Linked DNA regions of Homo sapiens: region 1 is linked to region 2. The links are contacts of gene promoters, found by promoter capture Hi-C in human tissues and cell types (Jung and others, 2019). All regions are on one chromosome and are shown on one strand. Each heading gives the region's core, a stretch centred on a gene start or on the middle of the fragment in contact. The rest is flanking DNA. Distances are from core to core; before and after follow the strand shown.

Evidence for each region. Contacts are between HindIII fragments. The study calls those that stand out against the background at their distance.
Region 1: a contact is called between a fragment that was not itself captured here and the fragment with the promoter of CCDC175 in region 2, in 1 of the 25 tissues and cell types used here (spleen).

The regions. Positions count from the first base shown.
Region 1 is chr14:59,845,523-59,848,222 of GRCh38, reverse strand. All of the region lies in intron 1 of RTN1 (reticulon 1), which reads left to right. Among named protein-coding and RNA genes, the nearest start is that of RTN1, 24 kb to the left of the region's middle. The HindIII fragment of the contact is 3,188 bases long and covers 1-2,700 here.
Region 2 is chr14:59,575,132-59,578,090 of GRCh38, reverse strand. It overlaps CCDC175 (coiled-coil domain containing 175), which reads left to right and starts at 1,279. Exons shown (of 20, transcript NM_001164399.2): 1 at 1,279-1,472. The coding sequence starts at 1,316. The HindIII fragment of the contact is 13,786 bases long and covers 1-2,959 here.

The DNA of each region.
Region 1 (2,700 bases), core at 200-2,699, 270 kb before region 2:
GGGGATGCTACATTCAGGTGGTGACCATTACAAGTTAGATCCTACTTTTCTGTAGATAAAAGGCATAATAATGGTGAATTGATGTTTCATTAGTTTGTGGAGAGGAAGACTTTATGGTCTCTTCAACTCTAGGCCTTCAAAATCTGAGCCATTACTCAGATGAAAGATGAAAGTGGTTGCTAAGATGAAAGAGGCTCTAATGAAGTGGGGCTTAGAAGCAGGTTTGGGCCTGGTGAGAAAAATTATTTCAGGTCTCCAGCAGAGTGGCCTGGCTAAAAGTCTTCACGTGGGATTTGTAAACAAATTCGGGCCCTGAGCCCACTTCCTGACTGCTGGGCTGGGCAATCTGTGCCAGCTTCCTCTGCAGTCTCTTCATATGCAGGAAAGGCTGTGGGTTCAGGTGTTAGAGCTATTCCAAAAAGCATGTAGCATGAAGCAGGGCGTTCTCCATCACTGGAAGGGTCCAAGCAGAGACTTCATGATCACTTACCAGGGAGGTTTAGAAGGAGGCATATTTTTTAAGTGGGAAGTCGAACTTGATCACTTCAAATGTTCTTTGTATTCCTTTTGTCAGGATTCCATGATTTTATGATAGAAAGCAGATAATTGTTTTGCACCAAGTCCTGTGAATGACTAGAAAATGACACACATTTTAAATATTGGGGTTTTACACCTTTAGCTAAAACTTGTATGAGCCCACATGAGCAAAACAAAACAGCAACAATCTAAATTAACAAGTAATTTTAACACTTAAAAGGATTTTCCATTTATTATGTTTATGGACATGCTCAGATAAAACATCTTTTATTAGTCAAATGGAAACATTGGTTAATCATTATGTACTTTAAAATACTATTGGTAGATAAAAATATTGTATAATGTAGGGCTTATGGGGAACAATACTAAAGAGATAGGGACTATTTTTCATTGTTATACACTTACCTGCCAGATACTATTATGCTACATGTTTGTGGATATAAAGGTTTAAGAAAGTTATAGTCTAATGAAGGAGATAAAGAAACAATGATATTTTATGTGAAGAAATACGATAGAAGTATGTACATGATCTACATCAAGCATCTAAGCAGATGAGAAAGTCAGAAAAAGCTTTTTACTGGAAAAGGTTCTGGAAGTGAGTTTTAAAGCATGAGAAATTAGCAAGATGAAGCATAGGGAAGGCTATTCAGAGAGGGACAGCACCACTTAAAACTGTTATTTCTCCCTTTTTGACTTTTTCAATTAGGAATTTTGTTTTTCCTCTCAGACACTAGGTTTCTAGAATGGTGATGAAGGGGTACAGAGCTCTTCATTTGCATTTATCTTTAAGCCTCCAGATTATTCCTGGTTCTCAAGCAAAATCAGTCTCATCAAAGTGGCTGCTTCTCTGAGAGTGCATATGGCTGTCAGAGTTGGACAGACTGTGCATCTCAAACAGGTATGCGGACACCTGGCTACGAACCAAGGGGCACTTGGAGCCAGACTACACAAAGTCCATTTTCTCCAGTAGTAAGCCATTCAAAACACTGTTTTATTACAAATAAATGTATGCATCAAGGAGTAAAAGCACACATAGTTTTAAAATGTGAAACTTTAAATAAACTCCCTGTGTCATGGGTGTAGGCTACACCCAAAGGCCCTTGGGATACACACTTACTCTTCTTTTTCCATTATGCTTACTTGGTAACCACTGAGAAACACTGAACAGAAGGGTGTCTGGGTAGGGACTCTGAGGTGAATACTGAGACCTCAGGAACAAAGTGACAGATGAGTGTGGATGTGTGTGGTACACACGTGTGTGTGTACACACGTGTGCATACATCAACTCTGATCCATGGGCTGTGGCTGCACAGATATGGGTGCTGGGATGAGAAGAGTGCTGTGGAAAGAATGCCGGGATTAATGAGTGATGTCTGCTGTAGGTGAGCAAGGAGGAGGGACACAAGCAGCAGATGGGCCAGGATTTATCATCTCAGTTCATTCTGTTTCTTCTTCCACAAAAAAGCACCAGTGGGGTAAGGAAGAAGTCACAGCTGTGGTACTGGTTCTCTTCTTGCATCATCCTCATTCTGTAACATTGTTGACCTTGTCTTCAATTCCTACCTGGTTGACATCCTATAATGATCCACCTACCCCTGGCTGTTTGCTTACAGACATCAGGGTTGTTATTACTGTTTTTCTGCAATTGTTCCAAGCTCAGGTTTTTAAATACAGAGCCTTCATCAACTGTATGTTTAGAGTTCAAGCTTCTGCTGTTCCTAATCTACTATAGTGCGGATATGTATGATGCTGGAATTTAGGATTTTTTTTTTCTCCTCTAGCATGTTCTATGTAGAATTGTCCATGGCAGCTGCCTAAATAGCTTCTTTTTCTGGGCCTTGAATGATGTCATATGCCAGAAAATTGTGGTAGGGGTTTGGGAGATTCTTCTAGGGAAAGGGTTCAGTGGGTCCAAAGGAATAGACTTGTAAAGCTGGCATAATCAGATATGGACAAGTAGTAGTTCTATGCATGACAAGATTTTCCTGGGGAAGGGGTAGCTGAGAATGGGTTGGTGAACAGGCCATAGTAGGAACTTTAGATTTTATTCTCTGTTAACAATAGAGAGTAATTTGGTATTTTTGGTGATATAAAAGCCCTCTCAGATTTGTGTTTATAAAGCACTCCAGCAATGTGGAAGGTAGGAGTAGAATACGGTGAGGC
Region 2 (2,959 bases), core at 30-2,529:
CTGGATTCTAGAACTAGTTCTGCTACTGGTATGCTGTGTCCCCTCCAAGGCAGTGTTGCACAGTGGTTTAGGATGTAGCTCAGTGCCCTCACTTGCAAAGCAGGCAATAATACCTAGCTCAAAAGATTATTTGTGAGGGTTAAATGGGGTACTGCAAAGTATTTAAAACAGTGCCTGGAACAAAATAAGCATTTAACAATTGATAGCTATTGTCATTGTTACTATCATTCTAATTTCAATTTTGCCATCTGTAGAGAAAAGAAGAGGAGGGTTGAATCACCTTTGCTTCTCTCTAACCCACCAGAGGAAAAGGAACTGACAGACTCAACCTAAGCCTCATGCTAAGCTGAATTTTGGAGATGCAGAGAAAAATGAATAATATCCTCCTGTCCCCGTCATCACAGAGCTCACAGTTCGATGGGAAGACAGAGAAAAATCACTATGATTCAAGGCAAAATGTGCTCAGTGATGTACTAGATACAAGGAAAGTTCTAAATTAGTACAAAAGAAGGTTTTGTAGCATAGTAGAAAGAGTCATACAGACTTCACTTTATTATTTTATTTTATTATTTTGAGATGGAGTTTAGCTCTTGTCGCCCAGGCTGGAGTGCAATGGCGAGATCTCGGTTCACTATAACCTTTTCCTCCCGGGTTCAAGCGATTGTCCTGCCTCAGCCTCCTGAGTAGCTGGGACTACAGGCACGCGCCACCACGCCCGGCTAATTTTTGTATTTTTAGTAGAGATGGGGTTTCACCATGTTGATTAGGCTGGTTTTGAATTCATGACCACAGGTGATCCTCCCGCCTTGGCCTCCCAAAGTGCTGGGACTACAGGCGTGAGCCACCTCGCCCGGCCCAGACGTCACTTTAAATCCAATATTATCCTCTTGTGGTCTTGAGCCGTTCATTTAGTCGCCCGCGCCTCAGTTTACGTGTCTGTAAAAGTGGAGGTACTAAAAGAGCCTGCTCACAAAGTCCTTGTGAAGATTAAGTGAGCTACTGTATATAAAGGTTCTCCTGCAGTATCCGGCACAAAGATGCGCTCAAAAGTGATCATTATTATGATTCCAGTGGCCCACAAAAAAGATACAGGCCTGAACTAACGCAATGGAAATTGAAAGGGGAAAAATTAGCTAAAGAGAGAGTCATTCTTCCCAGACTGCTTAATTATCGTGGATAAAATTAGAGAACCAGGAGGGTACCTACTAGAGGTGCGGGCCACGAGGGGGCGCCCCACGACCTCGGTGTCCTCGTTGCCCGTGGCAACCGGCAATCCTTGGCTCTGGCTTAGGAGGCGCTCAAGTAGAGCGGCAAAATGGCCCTGAGCCCCTGGACCCCAGGGCTGGGCGCTGGCGAGAAGCTGGTGCAGGCGGCTGCCGTCTCCACTGGCCCCTCCCTGGAGTTATGCACCTTACCCTCCACCCTGGGCTCCTCGGTCGCGGTCGAGGCGCTGGAGCAGCTGTTTGTTGTGGGTAAGACGCCCCTCGGGCGCTGGAAGGGACGTCTCCTCAGAGGTGGCGCTTAGGAGGCACTCAGCGGGAACCCTGAGCGGGGACTCTCCTCCCGGAACCAGGGCATCACTGGGCAGGGCAGAGCCTTCTCCCCGCTCCTTGGAGGCTGGGGAGAGAGAGGTGGCGGGTGGGACCAAGTGCCCAGATCTCCTGCCCTAGCGCAGCTGAGGTGACTTCGCTCAACCCTCAGTAGTAGTTAAATTACTGAGGTGACAAATCCGGGACTCCCAAGCCACTGCCCTATGCCTGCGACCTGATTACACACCTGCATTTAGATTATGCCTTCGATTTCAGTTCTCTTCTTGCCGTTCCTTTACAAGTTAACTTCCTCCGACATTTTGCCGTGGCAAACTGGAGAATTTAACAAGCAAATAGGAAAGGGAGTGTTTAAGAGGCTTCTGTTGTGTTGAGCAAGAAAAATTAGATGTAAAGGGTTGTTTAGGAGATTCTAATAGAAAATGACCTTGGATAGGGCCAGGTTAAAGTATTTTTCAGTTAGAAAGCTGAACCTGTAATCAAGTCACTTAAGCTTAAGGTAAGACAATCCAAGAAAGGGTGTTTCTTGTTCGGTGCAAAAACCGTTTAGGCCAAACAACAAAACATTTCAGTGCTTCACTAGAATCATCCCATTTCTTCAAGATAATCGTATTGATTTATGTTACAATGTTACTATTAATTTGGGATAGTTTTTATTTTCCTTCTTAAATGCGCTAGGTTAATTTCACAATTCTTAGCAAATATGCTTGGGTAAATGTTATCATGAAGAATGTTGGCCGGGCGCGGTGGCTCATGTCTGTAATCCCAGCACTTTGGGAGGCCGAGGCGGGTGGATACCTGAGGTCAGGAGTTTGAGACCAGCCTGGCCAACATGGTGAAACCCCGTCTCTACTAAAAATACAAAAATTAGCCGGGCGTGGTGACGCACGTCTGTAATCCCAGCTACTCGGGAGGCTGAGGCAGGAGAATCCGTTGAACTCAGAAGGCAGAGGTTGTGGTGAGCCGAGATGGTGCCACTGCACTCCAGCCTGCGCGACAGAGCGAGACTCCGTCTCAAAAAAAAAAAAAAAAAAAAAAGGAATGTTACCCACTGAGGAGACCTAAAGTTATTAAGACCTAAATTATTCACATGTATCTGAGGTCACTGTCAATGACAGACCTAGAACCTTGAACTCTTTTCATACTTGATCTCTAGATCGGCATGCCAATGCAACCCTAGTACTTATGTACAAATACATTTTTCTGTTAATGTCTAGACACTCAGAACATATTTCATAGGAAAAAAAAATCATTACACCCTCTTGCCCTGAGTTATAAAATATTAATATGTAAATCTCCAGCACATTTGTCCTCAAGGAGCATAAAATATATACCTAAATTATAACATTATGGAATAGGAAATAAGTACAAAAGAGATTAGTGTAATGTACAATAAAAATTCAGAGACTGAA